Linked DNA regions of Homo sapiens: region 2 is linked to region 1. The links are contacts of gene promoters, found by promoter capture Hi-C in blood cells and fetal thymus (Javierre and others, 2016). All regions are on one chromosome and are shown on one strand. Each heading gives the region's core, a stretch centred on a gene start or on the middle of the fragment in contact. The rest is flanking DNA. Distances are from core to core; before and after follow the strand shown.

Region 1 (6,508 bases), core at 822-3,321:
TCTCACCATCTTGCCCCAGGTGGGTCTAGAACTCCTGAACTCAAGCGACCCTCCCACCTCAGCCTCCCAAAGTGCTGAGACTACAGGCAAGGGCCACCATACACAGTTTAAGAATATTTTTTGGATTTTCACAGCTGTCAGGAAAGCTTTAGAAAGAAAAGATGGGTGTTAAAAGTTAAGACACAGCTTAAGACAGAAGCATTGTAAAACAGGAACAAATACTGGCTTAAACCTGATGTCTCTAACTATATTCCTCTATTTTAAGAATGTTTTAGTATCTGATAGTTTCATCAGCCTTTCCATTTTCCAATATGTGACCTTTATTCCCACCATGTCCCAAATAAACGAGTCCTAGGATTTCCTAGAAGGTGGACCTCAATTATTGTGTCCCTTTTATATATAAGGCAAACATTGCTTTTAAGTTCTGTTGGAACATGGGAACTTTCACTAGAATGCTTAGAATGTTCAGAAAAAATGTCCCAAAGCTCTCTTCTGGTCCATACAAGACAATCAGAATGTAACACAGTAGCAGAGGGTGTGGAACATACACTAGTCATATTTGATTCTCTCTGTCAGGGGTTCTTCTTTGTAATGGGAAATAATTTGAATCAGGATGGAACAATTGATAAGAAGAAAGAACAAACCAGCTAACCAAATAAACAGAAAGGTGTTCTTTCCTTGAAACTCTAGAACATAGGCAGGAGCCAGCCACATGGCCTGCCCTATAAACCATAACATTAGGAGAACTACAGCTCTTTTCCAAGGCATTCTGACTAGTGGCATCACAAGAGGCAGTAAGCAGAGGTACCAAAGAAAGTACTGGGAGGTGCAGACTTTGTTAAAAGTCACAAAAATGGACGTATGAAGAAAACAACAAAAAACGAGGTCTCTGTAATAGGCGAAAGACACAGCTGAAAGCAAGATGAGCTGTGGCAGGAATGCAGCAATTCCCAGGGAAAAACTCCACTTGCTCTCTGCAGTCAAATACAGCATGTAGAAGTACGGAGAAAAGTTGTGACGGATATCCCGCCTAGTCAGGTGATAAAAGTAGGTGTGTTCCAAAAATTCCCAGCCGTACTCATAGTAAAAACCAAAGCTCAGGGCAAAAAACGTGAGTCCAGCAACTGCTACAAACAGCAGCACAGCCCGATTACACAGCCTTTTCAGGAGCTCGTACAAACAAGCCTGGAAAGTGTACCGGAATTGACGGAGGCTTTTGTCATTGTCGCGATCTGGAAGCAGGTGGAGGGTTATGGGAAGGATGTAAGTCACTGGATATATCTTCATATGCACCGCGAAACCATAGAATACAGCTGCACACGCGACGAGTCTTTTCTTTATCAAGTAGAGGACCATCAGGACCAGGGAGGCGACAATAGAGTCCGCATTACCGCGGCTGGATACTGCCATAGGCAGGGGGTTAAGAAGCCAAAAGACACAGTAGCCACAAGCCTGGCGGCGCCCCAGCCCCTTCAGCAGCAGCAGGCGGTATAAGAGGAAAGCGGTGAGGAGGTCGCAGCTGATGAAGAGAAACTTTCCAAAGAGCTCGCTGAGGTAGATGTTGGGAGTGAGGAGCCAACCCAGCAGCGGGGTGTAACGGTACGTGGCTCTCAGGTAAGGCGAGCGCCCCTCCGTGACGAAGCGCGCGGCGTCGGTGAAGACCTGGTAGTCGATGTCCGTATACCTCACGTGCAGGGTCCGGTCCTGGAAGACGCCATAGAAAACCAGGGCGACTCTGGCTAGAAAGGCCACACCAAAGACGCCGGCTGGAGCCACCTTCAAGTTCAGGAGCCATTCGCCCCAGTGCTTGGTGGAGCCCATGATCTGACCGTGCGACAGCTGCTTAGCCCCAGCTCCAAACTGCCTTCGTACTTCTAACCTTCCCTTCGGTTCTTTGCAGCAGGTGGCCGCCGCATCTCCCACCCGCCAGGCTGCCAACCGAAACGACTGCAGACTATCACATCCGGCATGAAGCCCCGCCCCCGTACTGCTACCTGTCTCCAGCCCCGCGCGGTCTTCTCAGCCGCCCGAGCCAAAAACTTGCCTTCCTCTGGATGGACGGTCTCGCTTCCGCTTCTTCTTCCAGCGGAGGCGGGATTTCCGGTCCGTGGGAGGGGAGACGTCCGCTTGCCGGGAAATCCGGCACTGGCTTGAGGATTTTATGGAGTGGAGTGAGATTTCTTTGTAAGTGACAGCCCGCCGCCCCCCGCCCTCTTCCCGCGCCCCATTTCCAGTCCTCAGAGGAAAACCCTCCGACGAGCAGCGAGCTGCGGGCTGCGCGCTACATCCTTCAGTCCTGGGCTGGAGATCCGAGAGTGAAAAATGTAGGAGTGAAAGGAAGATAAGCCTTCTCATGCTTTACTCCACTAGCTCGCCGGTATTCACCGGGGATTTGTGGGCCCCGGACAGGACAGGATGAGTTGAAGGGGGCTGAGTGTGTATGTTCCATGCAATATTGGAGGCATACTTATATTTTTAAATTACTAGTTGGTAATCAGAGATTCAGATTTAAGTGGGCAGCTTGTATTTTATCCGGCAACCCTAGGTGAAGGTGATGGGAAAGAAGACAGGAAAGCGTCACAAAATTCCTTAACTTGTCAGCCCCTTATGCCTCAGTATCTCTGTATTTGCTATTTCTTCTGTCAAAGTTGCCATCCGCTCTCCAATCACTCTGGCAAATACCTACTCAACCCTTCAGGCATCAGTGCAAGTGTTAGCTCCCAGCTCCCACTCACTTCCTCATCACGCAGAATGAATGACTTAGATGCCAGTCCCCTCCCCTGTCCGAGGATAGGTAGACTGGGGCGGACGGGATCTAAGTTCCAGAAAATCACTCACACAGAAGACCCTGCCATGCTACTAAAAGTTCTCCCAGTGCTCCAGAACTCCCTGGTCATTCCTTTGTTACAGCATTTGTCACACTGCTTTGTAATAACTGTTTTTGTTTGTTTTGCTCTCCTAGTTTTCCATCAGGACACTTTCAATTCTTCGGTATCAGAGATTATCTTGTTCTTTTCTCTACCTCAACATCTAACACAGTACTAGTAGCCATTCAGTAAAGTTGAATTGATTTTAGAGGTTCCTCCTACCAGAATATTTCTAGAGTGGCATCTTTGGATTGCTCCCAACTCCCAGTTATTTTCCCTTTTAAATATCCTTTATGTATGTCAAGGTCCCCTGCTCCCCCCACCCCACTCCAACCCTACTTCCATGAATTTCTTGCCAAGGACTGTAACCCATTAGCTCTTCCCTTTCCGTGGTTACTTAGTGCACTTACATAGTCCGCATTGTAGAATTTGATACTTTATTTTAGATTGTATTCATAGCCCTCACAAGAGATTATAGGGTTCTTGGGGGTAGAAATTATATCTTATCCTTAATTTTTTTCAATTATGTGTAATTTATTGTAGTCTTAGGCACATGGTAAATGCTTAGTAAATACTGACTAATTGGATTTTATAGAATAAGCCTGCTTCCTAGGGGAAGTCTTCTAGACTAGAATAAGGAAAAGGAGGTGACTTCATGCAGTCTGAACATGCAGCTCCCAGAACTACCTGCTGCTCATCCATCCTACACTTCAATTTATCCCTTGGAGATGAACTGTGTTAATCTTATATATTCCATATTCATATTGTGATAGCTCTATGTCCTTTTATATGCCTTGGTATCATTACATGCCTTAGATTGATAATTCTAACCATTTTTTTGCAGTATATTAGCCATATATATAGTGGCAGCACATCACCACTCATATAATGATGATTATGATGATGATGATTACTATTATTTATAATAGCTGGATTTGTTGAGGACTCATTTGCAATGTACCAGGCATTATGCTAAGTACTTTTCATGTAAGGTAGATATTCCCACCTTTACAAATGAAGAAAACCAAGGCTTATGGAGATTAAGTAATTTTCCCAAGTCACATAGCTAACTAGTGACAGTGCTAGAACTCAAAACCCAGTCTGTCTGACCTAGAATATCTTAATCATTATGTGGCTGACTTGCCAATAAAATGTTGATCACAAATTCTAATTTTCCTATGTTTTCTCTTATTGATCTCTCATCTTGATATTCTGGATATTCTCTCTCACTGTGACTCTTTCTACCTCTGATTTATTCTTTTCTTCTGCAAATAATAGATAAGTGAGGCTTAGTTCCCTAAGATAGAAAATATGGGAGGTAGGTGTCTGAGGATTAACTAAGTAAGGGTCCTTGTGGCTGGATTGGTTTCAGTAGTATAGCAGAAAGGTTTCAGTCAATCTGTCCCTACATGGCTGTCCTAGTAGAGAGATGGGAGGCACCAAATTTAGGCAGATAAGGAAACAACTAATAAAAAAATAAAATAAAAAAAAAACTAAGCATGTCACTGAAGTCAAAGGAGTGAGATGTAGATAGCAGTTGTGGGAACGAAGAAGAGACTGGAATCTGTAAAACAAATTGGACAGAGAGGTCCAACTTTAGTTACTATTTCTGGGTGGAAGAGATACATCACAGGGTCCGAGGACCCCATATTGAACTTTTTGCATTGGGTTTAGGGATTGTATTTTCTCACCTCTTTCTGAAAGAGTTACATTTTTTTCAAATGCTCAACTGTTCATTACCTCTCGGACTGTTACTTACAATCCTTCTTAATTCCCCCTTTCACTATCTGCTCCTAGATTTCTATCCTTTTAGAGCCAATGACTAAGGAAAGCACAAACATGGATCGCTCAACTTTAGTTTCCCTAGCAGGAACCTTGTCCTTGTTCACTATGCTGCATATACTCTCATTACCCTTCCATATCCACTATTCATCTTTTTTGCCCTGTTCTGTGTTCCAAGAGGTTAGGCTGTATGGGTAGCATCACTCAATCTCCCTTGTTCTCTGGCTTCCCATTAGAATAGACCAGTGGGAGGCACTAGCAGATCTTTGGCAGTGTCTGGAATTCCTCACCTAAAGCCATGGCTCCTGTTGAAGCTATAGCTCTCTCCTTTGGGTACAAGTCTCATGGTTCCAGTAACTGTCCCTTCAGGTTTAAGGCTGGTAAAGGCGTCCTACTTTGCGAGTGCCTGGGTACATCACCATATCTTGTTGATTTATTAAACTTGCCCATACCTTTGCAAATAGTTTCTTCATTAAAACATGTCCACTGGCCCTTTGAGTATACCATCTGTTTCCTGCTAGAACCTTGACTACTTTAATCACTTTCTTTTTCACTAGATTTTGTTCATATGTCTTGCTTTGTCATTTCTTTGGAATCTATTTCTAATTCTTTCCATGCCCAGCATCCTGCACCTTAGTTCAGACCTTCAACAACTCAAATAATACGTAGCGAACACCTATACTATACTATACCAGGATCTGTGACAATTGCCTTTCCCTCAAGCTTTAAAAATCTCTTAACTGATTTAATGTCTTATGTCTCAATTCTACTACCAGATTGATATTAATTAATAGTACTTTACTTAGATTCTTTCCTCCATCAAACATCTTCAGTGGTTCCTGACTGCCTAAAGAAAAAAATAATGAACACTTTAGCCTGATATTCAGTCCCCCTATTTTCTGGCTTTACCTTAGCTTTCCATCCTATTCACCTATAATGCCTCTGTTTTAGGTTTACTGTTCCCAAAATATGCCTTGTGCTTTCTTCTCATGACACTTTCTTCATGCTGTACTTCCTACAAAGAGACCTGTTTCTCTTTACTTACTTAAATGCTATTTGGTTTTTCAATGTTGAACCCAACTCTCAACTCCTCTTCCTAGACCTTAACAAGTGAAATAGTCTCTCCCTCCTCAAAACAGTGATGTTTATTGTCTGTTCTCTTTTTTAATAGTAATTATGTCATGCTCGTTATCTAACTCTTTTATAGTTATTTAACAAGATATACAAGCTCCACTGCATACTTTAGGCCATTTCTTTCTCTCTTTGCTTTCTTTCCCTCCTGCTAATTTATCAAACATCATACATGTCGGGCACTATATGAGGTGCTGGGCTGTACTCGTGACCAAACACTTGACATGAATCCCATTCATGTGACACTTGAAGTCTAGTAAGCTACACAGACATTAGTCAAATAAATTGACAAATAATATACAAATGCAGCTGTGGTAAGTGCTCTAGCTTTTAAGGGGATTTATTTGATCTCAGATGGGCATAGTGTAAGAGTTAAGAAGGTTGGCCAGGCACAGTGGCTCACGCCTGTAATCCCAGCACTTTGGGAGGCTGAGATGGGTGAATCACCTGAGGTCAGGGGTTCGAGACCAGCCTTACCAATATGGTGAAACCCTGTCTCTACTAAAATTACAAAAGTTAGCCATGCGTGTTGGCGTGTGCCTGGAGTCCCAGCTACTCAGGAGGCTGAGGCAGGAGAGTCGCTTGAACCCGAGAGGTGGAGGTTGCAGTAAGCTGAGATCGTGCCACTGCACTCCAGTCTGGGCTACAGAGCAAGACTCCGTCTCAAAAAAAAAAAAAACAAGAAAATTGGAAGTTGGCAAGCAGTGGGGAGAGTTCCACAGAAGGAA
Region 2 (5,889 bases), core at 368-2,867, 250 kb after region 1:
GGTGGAATTTATACTTTGGCAGTGTCTCCTGGCGATCTCTTCTGGGGCCCCGAAGCATCAGGGGCCGTGGTGGTAGAAGGGGGTGCTGGGGAGGGTTTGGCTTTATCGAAATCATCAAGAGCACCTTCAGAGACAAGAGACATGGTGTGTGTGTTGGCGACAGATGAGAATGCAAGCAAGGCTGGGTGGTTTCTGGGCAAAGCATTAGGAATATGATTTTTCAAATTGCCAACTTTCCTCAATTTTCCTCCTTGAGTCCCCCACCTCCCCAGACCACCCTCAATGAGCCTCCTACTTCCTTCTGGATTACCTAATTTATTGTGAGCAAAGGCAAAGAAATCCCTTAAGGTGGAACAAATGTCCATCTCAGAGCTGGGAGGAGAGGATTAAAAAGTTCTGCAGAGACATCTCCATCTATAGTGTCTCCCTTGCCACACCCTAACGATTCCCTAGAAATCCCATACAAATACCCAACAGTAGTAGAGAACACAGATGTCCTCATCCCTCTGAACTCACTCTGGAGCTCTAAAAGGAATAACTTGGTGAGAAAGCACAGGACATCCCACCCAGCTTCCTGTTGGTACTGGTACCAGCACAGACTGAGGGACTACATACCAGACTCCATGGTACGGCATTAAACTATCTTCTCTTATTCTCCAGTTTAGTGCTCCCCAACAACCTTCTAGAGCTCCCTTTGGCCTGATCTCTGCAGATAACCGTACACTAATTTACACAGTCACTTGGCACTCCTCAGGGTTTCTGTTCATTTTTCTGCCTGCCCACATCTCCGTGATTGAGCAAGCGATTACAAATTCACCTCTGCCCTGAAAAGCCTGTGTCCTCACCACCATTCTGTTCGCCAGGCCTAGGGAGAGAGCACTGGCCCTACTCTGGGCAGGAAGTCAACAGGGGAGTGGAGAGTAATGCTAAGAAAACATCCCCCGTCTTTCAGGAGGGTGAACTGCTTTCCCCTGAAATCGCCACATCCTCAGTTTCTCAAAATAAGGGAAAGGAGTCCGCTTGAGCTACTGACAAGATGAAAGAACTGTTAAGGGGCCTAACGAGAGAAAGAGAAAAGGACTAGGAGGAGAAAAGTGTCTTTCGTGTTAAGGAAGACAGGACGAGGCACACAAGGACCGGCCACGAGCTTGCTAGGAGTTAATGTAAGCAATCAGTGAGTGCGTAGTTCGCTACCCAGCAAGAACCAAATGCTGCTGCTGCTGCTACTGCTGCTGAAGTCGAACTTTAAGAACTCAGTAACCTAAAGAGGAGTTTGAAGAGGTATCATGAAACGCCGTCCTGCGGAAACATCCACCATCCGGACCACTGAGGGACCCCAGGTGAGCTCCCCAGCTCCAGTCGCCGGGGTGGGGCAGGATGACCCAGAGATTTTTGGGGGGCTCGGGGGTCAGACTCTCCGCCCCCATTTAACCTTTGGAGAGCCTCTCCTGCCCGTCCCTAATATCTCAGGTTCACTTAACCCCCAGAATGGGTCCTCACACGTGCCCTCTTCGGGCCTTTCCCACTATGGGCTCTTACTTTCCAGAAGCTCCTCCAATTCCCTGTCCGCTTCGGCCCCGACACTACAGCCTTCCTCAGCGGCGGCCATCTTGCTACCTCCGACTTGCCGTAGGAGGCGGGACCTCCTCGGTGCCGACACGCCCTCCACCCCTTCGCTCCCGCCCTCTTCTGCCTCGGGTAACCAATGGTATTGTTGACCAGTGCGGAACCGCCATTTTTAAAGGGCCAGGAAGCTTTGAGTGTTTGTGTTTTGGGTATTTTTCCCTTTTCTCCTGTGAAACAGAATTAGGGATAAGATAGGGTTATTTTCTGTCTGGTTTTAGAGGCCCGGACTCCTTTCTTTCAACTTCCCAAATTACCTGGCGAAGCTCTTTCATTATTTTTTCCTGAGCTGTGAGTAGGCCAGATTGAGACAAACTGCCTACAAATAACCAGAATCTAAACATATATAATTGATATGACAATTATGGCACATAACATACTACTTTCTCTCACTTCATTTTTTTTTTTTTATTTTTTTTTGAGAAGGAATCTTGCTCTGTCGCCTACGCTGGAATGCAGTGGCGCCATCTCGGCTCACTGCAGCCTTGGCCTCCCGGGTTCAAGCGATTCTTCCTGCCTCAGCCTCCCGTGTAGCTGGGATGACAGGCGCGCGACACCACGTCCGACTAATTTTTGTAGAGACGGGGTTTTAACATGTTGGCCAGGCTGGTTGGCCAGGCTGGTCTCGAACTCCGGACCTCAGCTGATCCGCCCACCTCGGCCTCCCGAAGTGCTGGGATTACAGGCGTGAGCCACTGCGCCCGGCTTCACTTCATTGTTTCCCTCAAATATTATCTTTTCTGAAACGCTTTCCTTGGCCATTCCCGTTCCTTTTCTTCCTAACACTGAACAGTATCTGACATACTATCTACCGTACTTTTTTATTCTCCGCTCCCCACCCTGCAGAATTTAAACACCATGAACGCAAAGATTTTCGTCTGTTGTCTTCACTGCTGTAAAGCCCAACTCCCAGGCTAGGGTTTAAAACTTAGTAGGCATTCATTGGCCACTCTTTGCTCTCGCAGTCCCTAATCAGGCACATCTGTCTGCCCAATCTAGTGGCATCTCTCATTTCCTATTATCTATTAGAACTGTTTGATTAAAGGACACAGGGCCGGCCAGGAACTTAGAACTCCATGTTATTAAGAGAGCCTCTGGTACCTTGGACTGAGCAGGGCAATTCGAATGCAGTAGTAATAGACTTACTTTCCCTGAACAATCTCCTTTTCTCCACACAGAACCCAACCTCCAACTGAGTGAACACGGGGAATGCTCAGATAGAGGTAACTCTAGACGTCCCTTTCCTCCTTTGGAATTGTTCTATTCAGATGTCAGAATGTAGCAACTGTTTCACATACAAATCTGTTTTCGCACTTAGAGAGCACCTATTATTAAGGTCTTGTTCTGGGCACAGTGAGGACAGAGAGATAAATCAGGACCACCCCCTGCTGTAAGGTAGCTAAGTGGGGGTGAGCCGGAGGTATGATGAGATATACACACAGTATGATACAAGGTAAGAATTTTAAATGAAAAAAAATCCTGTGTTAAGTCACCTCATCACTTTCATTCTTAGCTTCCTAAACACACATTTGAGTACTGCATCAAGCACCAGATCAAGCACTTACTATGTCCTTCACAGATAGGGCACAGACTTGTAAAATCATATCTGCAAAACCTGTTTTCTTCCAACCACAAGTAGTGTGTTTTGGGATCAAAATATTATGAACTGTGAGTTAGAAAGCCTAAATTCCAGCCCCAATTCTGCCACTAATCACTTTTGAAGTCCTTTACAATTCTAAACTTCTGTAATCAAATCCTTTCCTGATAAACCTGTTTTCCAACACCTGCAACATAATTTATTCCAGACTTTCTCATTCAAACTGCTTACACGTGTATCTCCAATATGGCTATAGTTGTAACAAGCACGTCAAAAAAAGAAAACTTGTCTATCAACAGGCATCTCTATTGGTTTTATTTTTTGAGACAGAGTTTCACTGTTGCCCAGGCTGGAGTGCAGTGGTGCAATTTTGGCTCACTGCAGCCTCCACCTCCCGGGTTCAAGTGATTCTCCTGTCTCAGCCACCTGAGTAGCTGGGTCTGCAGGCTCGCGCCACCATGCCCAACTAATTTTTGTATTTTTAGTAGAGACAGTGTTTCACCATATTGGCCAGGCTGGTCTTTAACTCCTGACCTCAAGTGATATGCCCACCTTGGCCTCCCAAAGTACTGGGATTATAGATGTGAGCCACTACACTTGGTCAATTGGCTTTAAACTAATGTAATATAAGCATGTTAATTAAAAGATAATAGATGATAATTAAAATGGAGTCAAAAACAAGCATGATTCTTTCTTTGCATTATTTCTTAAACTTCTTTCTGCTTTTCTATTTTTACTCCTAATATTCCTAACATCTCATCTCAGTATTTACTGACCTACTGACTGCTCCTTCTGCCCTTCTAATGTATAGCGAATACTGTTGAATAACAGTATTTTATAACGCTTTCATATCACTCTGTTCCTTAAGGATTTAATGGTTCTCCACAGTTTATCGAACAAATTCTAATTCTTGCCTGGGAGTCACAATTATTTCACATCTTGTATTTTTAGTAGAGACAGGGTTTCACCATGTTAGCCAGGATGGTCTCGATCTCCTGACCTCGTGTTCCGCCTGCCTTGGCCTCCCAAAGTGCTGGGATTACAGGCGTGAGCCACCACGCCCGGCCTTTTTTTTTTTTTAAGACAAAGTCTTGCTCTTGTCCCCTAGGCTGGAGTGCAATGGTGTGATCTCAGTTCACTGCAACCTCCGCCTCCCGGGTTCAAGCAATTCTCCTGCCTCAGCCTCCTGAGTAGCTGGGATTACAGGTGCCTGCCACCCTACCCAGCTAATTTTTGTATTTTTCGTAGAAACAGGGTTTCACCGTGTTGGCCAGGCTGTTCTCGAACTCCTGACCTCAGGTGATCTGCCTGCCTTGGCCTCCCAAAGTGGTGGGATTACAGGCGTGAGCCACCACTCCCGGCTAATATGTACATTTTTTTTTTTTTTGAGACGAAGTCTCGCTCTTGTACCCCAGGGTGGAGTGCAATGGCACAATCTCATTAGTAGTATGTACTCTGTTGAGAAGGCAGCCTTAGTTTAGGGATGCTGTTTAAAAAAGCAACTCTTAAGATAAAGCTAAAAAATACAACGTATAGTATGAAGAGAAGTAAAAAACAAAGTGAAGCTCCCTAATATATTGATACGAGAAAATACCAAAAATGTTAAATGAAAAAACAAAGGTACAAAATTGTTAAATAGTGTGGTTTCATTTGTGTATAAAAGGAGATAGAGAATGGCATAGTGATATCAGCATGTGCATGTATATGTGTGTGTGTGTATATATATATATATATAAAATTTCTGGAAGGATGTAAGAAAGCTGGTAACAGTGGTTACCTGTTTAGGGGAAGGTGATAGGAACTGGGTGGCTGATGAAAGGGTGGAAAGATTTGTCACAGAATAGCTTTTTATATTTACTGATTTTTCAACTATATGCATTTATTATTTATTGAAAACATGAATTTAACACGCAAAAAAGTACTTATTTTAATCGAAGGCACAGTAATGTCACTCTACCCAATTATTCTTAGCATATGACAAGCAAAATATTGTATTGTTAATGTAATCATTGTATCATTGTAATATATATAAAGTACTATTCTTTTATCTGTATATTACATGTAAAATATCTAGAACAGTGACAGTCACATGGCAGGTGCTCAATAAATATTGCTATAATTAGCAAAAGATAAAAGGCTGCAATCAAAAACAGAATAAGGGAGCTACTTGCTTTCTATCATTTTCACAGCAGTTTAGGTCCTCATATATACCCTATGAAAAACATGTGCTTCTTTTTTTCTTTCTTTTTTTTTGAGATGGAGTCTCACTCTGTCGCCCAGGCTGGAGTGCGGTGGCGCGATCTCAGCTTACTGCAACCTCCGCCTCCCGGGTTCAAGCAATCCTCTGCCTCAGCCTCCAGAGTAGCTGGGATTACAGGCACCCACCACCATGCCCGGCTAGCTTTTTTTTTTTTTTTCCAATAGTGGATGTTTATTTTGTAATTAAAAATTATTACTGGAAGGAAGATATGTACTTTGGTGGGGTGCCTGCATGGGTGAACAAGAACATGAGAGTGTCCAAGAAATAAATGGCCAAGTCAAGAAGCTCTCATAGAGATTTATTTAGTGTGAGAAATATGAGAACAATAGTTGTAAAGAACAAATCAATAACCCGCAGTGTGCATTTTGGAAAACCAAATAACTTCTTCAAATTTCTGAGTACACAGAGG

Evidence for each region. Contacts are between HindIII fragments. The CHiCAGO score rates a contact against its expected background, and 5 or more counts as called.
Region 2: a contact is called between the fragment with the promoter of PEX19 here and the fragment with the promoter of PIGM in region 1, in 4 of 17 cell types (erythroblasts, fetal thymus, M0 macrophages and 1 more). The highest score is 7.1, in erythroblasts.

Annotation. Positions count from the first base shown.
Region 1 is chr1:160,029,919-160,036,426 of GRCh38, forward strand. PIGM (phosphatidylinositol glycan anchor biosynthesis class M) reads right to left here and starts at 2,072. Exons shown (of 1, transcript NM_145167.3): 1 at 1-2,072. The coding sequence starts at 1,821. The coding sequence ends at 550. The HindIII fragment of the contact is 5,226 bases long and covers 145-5,370 here.
Region 2 is chr1:160,283,516-160,289,404 of GRCh38, forward strand. PEX19 (peroxisomal biogenesis factor 19) reads right to left here and starts at 1,618. Exons shown (of 8, transcript NM_002857.4): 1 at 1,540-1,618; 2 at 15-124. The coding sequence starts at 1,609. It overlaps LOC107985219 (a long non-coding RNA gene), which reads left to right and starts at 850. Exons shown (of 3, transcript XR_001738265.2): 1 at 850-1,340; 2 at 2,802-2,846. It overlaps COPA (coat protein complex I subunit alpha), which reads right to left. Exons shown (of 33, transcript NM_004371.4): 33 at 5,079-5,889. The HindIII fragment of the contact is 4,290 bases long and covers 1-1,752 here.